3 separate regions of the Homo sapiens genome follow, and all the other regions are linked to region 2. Evidence: promoter capture Hi-C in 16 types of primary human blood cells and fetal thymus (Javierre and others, 2016). All regions are on one chromosome and are shown on one strand. Each heading gives the region's core, a stretch centred on a gene start or on the middle of the fragment in contact. The rest is flanking DNA. Distances are from core to core; before and after follow the strand shown. Region 1 holds the start of ACBD6 (acyl-CoA binding domain containing 6). Region 2 holds the start of EDEM3 (ER degradation enhancing alpha-mannosidase like protein 3). Region 3 holds the start of TOR1AIP1 (torsin 1A interacting protein 1).

Region 1 (3,538 bases), core at 34-2,533, 4.3 Mb before region 2:
TAAAAATCACAATAAAAGTTGTAATACTGCATTTTGCATTGCATCACATTATTATTATTATTATTATTTGAGGTGGAGTTTCTTCGCTCTTGTTGCCCAGGCTGGAGTGCAATGGCGCACAATCTTCGCTCACCGCAACCTCCGCCTCCTCAGCCTCCCGAGTAGCTGGGATTACAGGCATGCGCCACCACGCTCGGCTAACTTAGTAGAGACGGGGTTTCTCCATGTTGGTCAGGCTGGTCTCCAACTCCCGACCTCAGGTGATCCTCCCGCCTCGGCCTCCCAAAGTGCTGGGATTACAGCCGTGAGCAACCACGCCCAGCCCTGCATCACATTATTACAATCCTATTATCTTTTTGGATCTCTATATAGTTTTATTAACTTTACCGTATTTACTTCCATGTGGCCCTCTGGGAAAGAGTAAATGAATGATATATCTTATTTTATCCTCATTTTGTAAAGGTTCTTGGGCTGGTAAAATGCAAGATCACTGAATAAGTCAGAGAAAAAAACACAAAAACAATGTCCAGTGTCCAGCTAAATAAACATCACTCCTAAGAAAGCAAACATCTTTTCCACGTTCAGGATGATGCTCATCCCCAGCAGATGGTCAAAAAAAAAAAAACAAAACAAAATACACATACACAAGCTTCATTACACCTAGCTATTAACCATACATGCTTGCTATCAGTTGTTGAGGAAGAAGGCTCCGTGTCTTTCTCCCCCATCCACCCTCTCCCTGCTACTTTACCTGTTTGTACCTGGCATACAGGTACAAGAGCTGCTCCCTGCTGGCCACCTGAATCAGGCCTTGCAGGTGCGCGGCAGCCTTCTCAAACAGCTCGGCCAGGCAACTGGTCTCCTCGATCTCAGGGCTATGGGGGAACTCCACCTCCCCGGAGTCGTCCCCTGAGCTCAGCTCTCCACCGCTGTCGCCGGTGATGGCCCCCGCGGGCAGGAATGATGAAGCCATGTCTCCTTGCTCGCTCCGTCCCTCTGTGTCCGGTCTGTCCTCCTTGGATTGGGTGTAAGGCCGGCTTGGAGGCCTGGCCCACCAGTCTGGGTCGCGAGCCTGAGCTCCAGTCGGACCCAAGCTCAGTCGCGGCGCGCTCCCTCACGTGACCCTGCTCCCTGCCCACTTCTACTCCCTGGGCGTGCAGAGCAGGCTCCTCGACCCTCTGCCGCTCTGCCCAGTCGACCCGGTCTCCTCCGGCTTCCCTCCGGCCAACAGCGCGCTCAGGCTCGCCTCAGGCCCCTCCAACGGAACAGGAGTCGAGGGGCAGTGAGGCCGGGATGCGTGCGAGCGCGGGGCGCGGCTGGCGCTGGGCCGTGGGGGCGGGGCGGCGTGCGTGCCAGCGGCGTGCGATTCTGTGAGGCCTGCTCTGCGCCGGCGGGGAAGCGCGGGCGACGCTACGCTGGACGTCCTTCCCTGCCGGAGGAGAGAAAGTGCCGTCAGCTGTAGGGGCGTCTTTTAATCGTTTCGCTGAAATTAGCAGTCCCGAGCTCCGGAGCCCGCCACCGGGATGGGCCCCCGGGGGTGGGGGAAGGAGGCCGTTTGTGTGGTAGTGTAGCGGTGAGAGCGGAGTCGCGGGAAACGCGAGGCTGAGGACTAAGGTTCCGCCTGCCCCAGATTGTGCGCCCCAAGCGCCTCCAAACAGCCCTGCGCGCGGATCTGTTGCGTGCGCGTTGGGCTCTGTGTTGAATAATGAAAAACTGCGAGATGGGGCTGTCCCGTCTTACTGTGTGACTGATGAGTGGAATCACTGCTCTGCGTGTTTCGCTCTCCACACCTTCGGAGCCCGCACCTCTCCGGGCCCTGAATAATAGGGTTTGGGGAGTTCGGGGCGCGCCTTAGCCCAGTTCTCATCCCGAGCTCTGTCTTTGACACTGTGCTTTGTAGACACTGTACAGTGAAACCAGAAGTACGGCACAGTTCGGCCCTAGAGGAATGCACAAAACTATTTTTTTAACTGTAACATTATGAGTGGTTATGTCCTAAATGTTAAACACAACGACGCACTATATATTCATTTAGTATTCAAAACAATGTAATAAGCACTATAAGAAGGGTACAAAGAAAGTGTTGTAAACAGTGGTTATTGACTGGGGTTAGGCTTGCGACGGGTGGACGGACGGCTGGACAGGATGAGGAAGCAATGAGAGAACACAGGAAGGTGAGAAAGCTTGCATCAGGATTCAACAGACATTCCTTAAGTCTCCAGAAAGTTCCACTGTTAGTCCCTGCTGTCAAGGTGCTCGCAATCCAGTCAAAGGGATGTTTAATGACCAAATTCTTGCAATTAAAAAGTGATTAAGAATAATGTATTGAGGACTTGATCATTACAACATAAGGTAGGTACTCTTATTTTACTACACATAGGAAATCAGCACAGAGTGGTTAAGTAACTTGTCAAAGGCTACACAGCTAGCAAATGGAGGAGCAAGGAAAAAGAAGTTAGCTTTCATGTGGGGTAATAATGGATGATGAACCCGACAAGTAGACTGAAGGAGATATAACATGGACTTTTATATCTTTGTTTCTAGAATTTTTATTAAAGTGAGAATTGAATATTATCAACGGCTTTTTTGGCATCTTTGGAGATTATCTGCTTTTCTCCTCTAGTCTTCGAAAGGAATTATATTAACAGTTTCTATTTTAATGAATTATATTAACAAAAATAAATTTGGGATTTAATGAATTATATAATAGCTAACATTGATAAATTAGTATGCATTATTTCAAAACCTCCTAGTTTTGAGCATTACTTCTGTTCTTGGAATAAACCCATTCTGGTCCTGGTTTGGTTTTTTTAAAAAATTTGTAGGTTCAGTTTGCTAATATTTTCATTATCTTTACAGTTCCATTTAAAGATGTCATTAACCTATAGTTTTCCTTTTCTATACTTTCTCAATTTTGTATCAAGGTAATAGAATCCTTGTAGAATGCATTTAGAAGTTTTCATCTTTTTCTGTATTCTGGAAGAGTTTACATAACATGGGAAAGAGAGCAACCAGAATTCTTTTACACTGCTGGTGTGAGCATAAATTGGTACAATCACTGTGGAAAAATGTTTGGCACTATCTACTAAAGCTGAACATAAATATACAACAATTCGACTCCTCCCCAGCGGGAATATATACATGGCATTCACCAAAAACATGTACGAGAACATTCATAGCAGCACTATGAACTAATTCCTAATTGCTCCAAACTGGAAGCTCCTGAATGTCCATCAACACTAGAATGGAGATAAACTGGTGTGCTTACATGATGGAATACTATTCATCAGTGAGAATGAACTAATTACAATGACACAGAATAACATGAATGAATCTCAAACATAATGTTGAGTATAAGCCTATACTCAAAAAAGTGCATATTACATGTTTCTAGTCATAAAAAATTCAAAATCAGGCAAAACTAATCTGTGGTGTTAGACTCAGGATAGTGGGTAACCTCAGGGTTAGTGATCTGAAGGGTGCATGAAGGGGACTTCTGGAAGTTGGATATGTTGTTTCTTAAGCCGAACATTAGTAC
Region 2 (3,375 bases), core at 867-3,366:
AACGTGCAACATACTGGAGAGAGCCTGGCTCTGGGATCAGACAGGCTTGGGTTTGAATGCTGGCTCTACCAATTACTAGCTTTGTGGCTGAACAAGTCAACCTTGGGTCTCAACTTCCTCATTTGCAAATGTGGATCATATTCATTGGGAAATAGGAAGGAGTACAGAGATAACATATGTAAAGTATTCACAGAGTGAGATATTTGGTAAAACTTATCAATGATACATTAAATTCATATGAGAGAAAATGTAAGATATTTATTAGAGTTTACCGGTAATTTTATTTTGATGGTTGATACTTCAGCTTTTTTCCATCAAGTGACCTTTATTGCTATTTAGAAACGAATACAAGACTCTTTGCAATGATTTAAAGTACATAAAGTAAGACCTGATGGTTCCACCACCCCTCCAGCCTAACCCCATGAGATAATCTTCGTTCCACTTTTTTTCTGAGCTCAGATTTTTTTTTTCTTTTTTAAAAAAAACATGGGATGATACTATACATATTATTCTACAACTTGCATTTTTTTTTGTTTTGGAAATATATTCTGGATAGGCTTCCAGTGACGTACTTCCTTCTTCTTAATGTCTCAATATTATTCCATAATATGAACGTACCCTATTGAACCATTTCCTCCAAGGAAGAGCTGTTCTTTCAAAATGCACTTTTTTTTTTTTTTTTCGAGACAGAGTTTCGCTCTTGTTGCCCAGGCTGGATCTATCTCTGCATTAAGAGTGCTTTTATTTTCTTAGGGTAGATTCTCAGAAATAGAACTGATGAATCAAAGTGTGCACAATTTAAATTTTAGTAGATACTACCAATAAGTTACAGCAATTTACACTCTCACTAAGCCTTTTTTTTCTATTCCTTAACTAACCAGAACCGTATCCTTGTGTTTTGTATTATATTTACTAATCTGATGGGCAAAAACCAGCTAGCTCCTCGTTTTAATCTGCATCTCCTACGTTTATGGAGGTTGAGTAACTTTTCATGTTTATTTACCACTTCCATTTCCTCTTCTGGCTTAACCGTTCATGCCTTTCTCCCATTTCCTACTGGTTCTTCGCTTTTTTCTTATTCATGTGTAGGACCTCGTGTATGTATTACTCTGAATTAAATGGTGTAAATAGAATTGATAATTTTAACACACTTCCAAGACGGATAAAAACTACTGAATAGGTATACTTGAGACTTTTGAATAATTTCCCCCCAAACATTCTATTATGAAAATACAGTGCAAGAAAACACTGCAAGGAAATAGTAAAATGTGTAAAGTTCAAGTTCCAATGAACGCCCCCTTTTCCGTAACAGGTGTAAACATCATTTCCTTAACTACTGTGAGATCAGCAACATTTTCCCAGTTGGAAGCTCACTTGCGCGAGAAAGCTAACCATGCTTCGGTCGACAGGCAGCCAACCGCAGAACTCCAGCGCGCAGCGATGCGGGCTGTAGCCCCCTTCTTGGGCCACTGACATGGCAGCCGCGTTGACACACCGCGCCTGGCTTCAAGGAGCCTGCACATGTCACCGGCGGCCAGGGCGACACCCCGTCAGCTCCCCCGAGGTCAGGTCGCGGGCGGCGGTTCCCACCTCCCCGGACCCTGTCCACCCCTCTAGGGTTCTCGCGCGGGAAGAGCCGTTCCAATCGCGACAGGAGAGGCCACTACGCGACCGGGTCGCAATGACAGGCACCCCTCCTGTTGTCAGCCTCACCGAGAAACCCACCCCAGGCTGCCAGCACCCTTACCCAAGCTTCTGTTTCTCCTCCCTACTCATGGGCTCGGCCCCCGCCGTCCACACGGAGGTGGCCGACACCAGGCAGAACGCGGCCGTCGCCGCCACTAGTCTCCATCGCGCTCGCTGGGGAACCGGGGACCCACAGCCCCGGCCGCCGGCTTCGCTCATGGCCCCGCGGTTCCGCGCACGCGCAGCTGCTACGCCCGGCCGGTGAGACACATTGCTGGACGCTGGTGGCCAGGGGGCTGCTAGCCGTGCCGAGACGGGGCGGGATGCGGAGTAACACGGACGGCCGCCGGCGCCAAACTGTTTCCCGAAGCCACCAAGCCGGTCCCCAGCGCCAGCGCTGCCACCGCCCTCCGCCCTCAGTATCCCGGAGCGCCTCCCCCAGCTTTCCGGTGTCGTAGTCTAGGAAACCGCCTCCCCAACGTTACTTCCGGGTAGGGCCGAAGCCGTAGAGCCTCAGGACCAATGGAGACCTCATGGGAGAGGGGCTGTCTCCGGCGACTGGAGAGGGCATTGGCCAGGAGAAGTGAGACGTGGACAAAAGGCGGGACTGGGAAGGGATCTCTCGCTTCGACCCGCCTCCGACCCGCGGAGTTGCCCCCTGAGGACTACCAGTCCCAGTGTGCACTGCTTCTTCCCCGGCTCTCCCGCGAGCCGACTCGGAGCCGTGTCTCTCGCTTCTACCCGGGGTAGGCGCGCTGCACCCTGGGACTTGCGGTCCTCCGAGGTCGCCAGTGGTTGCTGGGATCCCACCTCCCCCTTTCCTCGGCGCCCTACAGTCAACCCTGTCTCGGTGGGCTGCGGAGTCCCGGGAAACCCGTCAGCTGTTTATCTCTCTTCCTCAGAAAGTTGTTTCCCAGAGAGCTGGCTGAATGAGGCGCACTGTCCCCATGTCAGTGCTGCTGCGTTAGGGAATAGTGTTGGAGTAGTCGTCTACCCTCAGGGAAATTCCAAAACACAGTAACAGCAAAATGAATTGAGCCTTTGAAGGCATTGCGCTAAGGTTTTTACTCGCAATCATCTCATGCACTCTTCTCAACTCTGATAGAGTAAGTACCACCATCCCCCTTTTGCAGACGAGAAAACAGAGGCTTAGAAAAGTTGGTTAACAAGAGCTCGTCACACTGCTGTATTAGAATCCATCCAGCCTCTGATTCGGAAGCCCTTGCATTTAACCACCGCGCAGTACTACAAGGATGAAGGAGCACGTGGGTCCTCGTACATGATTAATAATAGTTACCTCAAAAGCTCAATGTAAGGAGAGCTGTGTGGGCTGCAAAGAAGGTTTAATGAAGGAGATTGGAACTTGCAATGAATTTTGATGACCGAGTCCCAGGTTAACTATTGGTAAAATGACACATCGGTTCCTCTTGAAAAACCACATTGTTTTTCTAGTGTGGTCATTCAATAGGTGCGGAGTTTAGGAGCTTCGATGTGATCTCTGTGACCACAGTAAATTACTTACGTGTCCTTTAAGCAGTATTCGGCGGTCTTTCTGGAAACGTTTCTTCCTTGACTTTTATCACCTTACCTCTTACCTCTTAACCTCTTACCTCTTCTCTGGCTGACCCGTTTTCCTTCATTCTCTCGCTACTTTATATTAAAATACAGGTGTTCCCTTAAGGTTTTCTT
Region 3 (3,490 bases), core at 711-3,210, 4.9 Mb before region 2:
CATAGTCATCTGTCTTGGTAAAATGTTTCAAGGAGACTTTAATGTTCATAATATGAACTCAATATATTACTATAAAATTTATATTTAATAATTAAATCTATTAAGGAACTTATACTATTGTGTTACTAATGAGTAATGTAATAGCCACTTTAAAGAGAAAGCCCTGCTTAAAACATAAATAAAAGCCACGTATTACCATATCAATACTTTTGAGCATTTTGTTGGAAGAGTAAATCTAGCTAATTTCCGAAATATACCATCTAATCCAGACTGACAAGGAAGAGTATCCTTTTCATTTTTCCTTAAAAGACAAGAAGAAAGAAGAAAGAGAGACAGAAAAGAAAGAAAGAAGTCTCTCTTTTGTTACTGCAGTTTTTAAAAGCTATATTGTACATAAAGCTACAGTAAACTAAGCTCCTAACAGGCCAAACCTTATCTCACTCTAAAACTGTAATTCCTCCTGCCTGTGGCCAAATTTATGGACAATATTAGTAAAAACATAGTACACAGTCGGGCAGGGTGGCTCACGCCTGTAATCCCAGCACTTTGGGAGGCCGAGAGGCGGATCACGAGGTCAGGAGATCGAGACCATCCTGGCTAACACGGTGAAACCCTGTCTCTACTAAAAATACAAAAAAATTAGCCGGGCGTGGCGGCATGCGCCTGTAGTCCCAGCTGCTGGGGAGGCTGAAGCAGGAGAATGGCGTGAATCCGGGAGGCAGAGGTTGCAGTGAGCCGAGATCGCGCCACTGGACTCCAGCCTGGGTGACAGAGCAAGACTCCGTCTCAAAAAAAATAAAATAAAAATAAAAATAAAATAAAAACATAGTACACATTACGACTTAAGTAGTTGAAATTTGTGCCAAGTTTGAGCAACAAATGAGTTGCTCAAAAACATTTTAAGGTGATTACTTGGAAGAATAAACAAACACCTTCAAACTTTTCAGAATCGCTCATTGTAACTGGTATCCAAATTACAATTTTTTAAATCTATTCACTCCAATCATACAAAGCCCTACAAGCAGTTGTATATTTGAAGGCAATTTAAGCTTTCTTTCAATAATTATTCAGACTTTACACGAACTTAATCGACCTTCTCTGAATGTGTCTAAATTTGGTTAGGTATTTGCAGATTAGCCACATCTGTAAACATTTGTATAAGGAGGTGAAACAAATAGATTTTACCATGCTTTCTTATTCCATAAAGTCCATAAAGCATTCTAAATCAAATGTAGAGTATCACGTCACATCCAGAATAAAAGTAAAAATAATGGATCACAACTTAAAATTACAGTGCTGTCTTTAATTAAAAAACTTGTTCATTTCTCACTGTGCACAATGTAGCACTAACATGGTCTTCCGAACACTGCTGCTTGGTATAAAACCGAGAAATATTAAAGACCAGGAATAAGGTTATGTGTCCTATGGGTACATTTCGGAAAAGAAAATACATCCAACGAGTATGACTCTAGATAGGATTTTGTACACCCTCAACAAGTGACAAAATTCAAAACTAGGTAACCGCCCTCATAAGGTACTTGAAACTAAAATTTTTGCCACGAAAACATGGCATGTGCAAAAGTTCTCTCTCTGGCCATCACTCCTGCTAAGGACACTGGGAAGGACATGGTCAACGTAGCAGTCGATCAAAAAGATTCCAGGGAAACTGCGCAACAGCCTGGGGCCGAGAAGCGAAACTTGGGTCTTCTCCACCCTCGTCGCACTCCTTTTCCCCGAGACTTGGTACTGGGAGATAGGACGGGAGTCTCCTACACGCAGTCAACACTTGCCACGAGCGGCTAGACTTAGGACAGGCAAGTTGCCCTGCCATCCTTCTATCGCCCCCACCCCTCCTTTACTTAAGGGCGATGGCAGAGACGTCCTCCTCCCCCTTCTCCTCCTCTTTGGTGCCTCCAGCCAGGAGGCGGGAGCGATCCACAGCAGCTGACCCAGCTCAGGCACTGCCTCTCTCACAGCCCTCAAGACACACCATGGGCCCAGAGGCAGGTTTGCTACACAGCAGCGACGACGCAGGCGGCGGCCCCAGCGACTCGCAACTGCCTCCCTGACCACAGCGGCCACCGCCCAACACCCCCGAGAAGCCATCGCCACCACCGGCAGGAGAACCTAGGGTCCATAAAGCCATCTTCGCGATCGACTAAAGCTACGTCAACAACTATGGCGGGCGACGGGCGGCGGGCAGAGGCGGTGCGGGAAGGATGGGGTGTGTACGTCACCCCCAGGGCCCCCATCCGAGAGGGAAGGGGCCGGCTCGCCCCTCAAAATGGCGGCAGCAGCGATGCGCCTGCGTACAGAACTCCTCCGTCGCGCCAGGGCCGGCGGGAAGTGAGGTTCTCGGACGAGCCGCCAGAAGTGTACGGCGACTTCGAGCCCCTGGTGGCCAAAGAAAGGTCCCCGGTGGGAAAACGAACCCGGCTAGAAGAGTTCCGGTCCGATTCTGCGAAAGAGGAAGTGAGAGAAAGCGCGTACTACCTTCGGTCTAGGCAGCGGAGGCAGCCGCGACCCCAGGAAACCGAGGAAATGAAGACGCGAAGGACTACCCGCCTTCAGCAGCAGCACTCAGAGCAGCCTCCGCTACAGCCGTCTCCTGTTATGACCAGGAGAGGGCTGCGGGACTCTCATTCCTCTGAAGGTGAGGACCGCGGAGGTAACAGTCCCAGCCGCGAGCCAGGGAACGCGCGGGGGCGGGCGCGCGCCTCGGTGGAGCTCATGCCCGCCTGGGTACTAAGTACTGGGATTGGCTAAAGGGTATTCCTCAGCCCCCTCTGGACTTGTGCCGCCGTGCAAGGGCCACCCTGACCCGCAGCGGGGAAGGAAGCGCCGACCGGAGGAGTGGAAAGATGGTCGTGTGGAGCGACCCGGGCAGGGCTGGGGCGCTCTGCCCAACATCGGGCATCAATTTAGGGGAGTCAGAGCTGCCTTTTTCTGCAGGCCTTCACGAGGGGACAGCGAATTACTGCAGGGTCGGTTTCATTTCGGTTCCCTCTACCCTGCGGATGTTTCTACAGAAACCACTTCCATTTCCTTCTTTAACGCTCGCGGGCCAGAGTCCCCAGCTGAGGATCTAACCTTTCAGTCTTTTTCCCTCCTCACCCAGGTGGGCAGAGAGGAAGGAGAAATTTTGTGAGTGGGCATTTCGAGGGATTGCTGAGTTTAGTGAATTGATTTGAGACCTCACCCAATACTTTCACCGAAATGGGGTAACTCATTTTTCCTGAACTGATGTTCCCCAGTGTTTGATAACTTGAGCTGATTGCTGTTTCTCCAGTGTGGTGGTCCCTGCCAAAAATCTGCCACTTTGGTGGCCGTCACTGTAACCTCAAGTAGTCTGGCAAATCAGACTGACAAAGTAACCTGAAAAACAAGACTATTAATTAGAGTTTTCGTCTAAATGGACAAAAGGGATGCTGACAAAGTGAGTGTATAGTGTTAGGTAAGTCATAGGTGAATCAGTTTCCTTAATCTATCC

The links. Contacts are between HindIII fragments. The CHiCAGO score rates a contact against its expected background, and 5 or more counts as called.
Region 1: the fragment with the promoter of ACBD6 here is called in contact with the fragment with the promoter of EDEM3 in region 2 in 2 of 17 cell types (activated CD4 T cells and non-activated CD4 T cells); the score reaches 5.8 in activated CD4 T cells.
Region 3: the fragment with the promoter of TOR1AIP1 here is called in contact with the fragment with the promoter of EDEM3 in region 2 in 2 of 17 cell types (activated CD4 T cells and non-activated CD4 T cells); the score reaches 9.1 in activated CD4 T cells.

What each region holds. Positions count from the first base shown.
Region 1 is chr1:180,501,294-180,504,831 of GRCh38, forward strand. It overlaps ACBD6 (acyl-CoA binding domain containing 6), which reads right to left and starts at 1,284. Exons shown (of 8, transcript NM_032360.4): 1 at 752-1,284. The coding sequence starts at 973. RefSeq lists enhancers at 1-206, 207-722, 830-1,330, 852-1,041 and a silencer at 1,252-1,351. The HindIII fragment of the contact is 1,534 bases long and covers 648-2,181 here.
Region 2 is chr1:184,752,742-184,756,116 of GRCh38, forward strand. EDEM3 (ER degradation enhancing alpha-mannosidase like protein 3) reads right to left here and starts at 2,117. Exons shown (of 20, transcript NM_025191.4): 1 at 1,748-2,117. The coding sequence starts at 1,905. It overlaps LOC105371649 (a long non-coding RNA gene), which reads left to right and starts at 2,433. Exons shown (of 3, transcript XR_922357.4): 1 at 2,433-2,792. RefSeq lists enhancers at 1,701-1,800, 2,271-2,370. The HindIII fragment of the contact is 1,960 bases long and covers 1,751-3,375 here.
Region 3 is chr1:179,880,325-179,883,814 of GRCh38, forward strand. TOR1AIP1 (torsin 1A interacting protein 1) reads left to right here and starts at 1,961. Exons shown (of 10, transcript NM_015602.4): 1 at 1,961-2,653. The coding sequence starts at 2,179. It overlaps LOC139427322, which reads left to right and starts at 1,992. Exons shown (of 1, transcript NM_001436163.1): 1 at 1,992-2,069. The coding sequence starts at 1,992. The coding sequence ends at 2,069. RefSeq lists enhancers at 1,327-1,865, 1,778-1,887, 1,866-2,403, 1,908-2,667, 2,230-2,524 and 1 more. The HindIII fragment of the contact is 5,266 bases long and covers 1,048-3,490 here.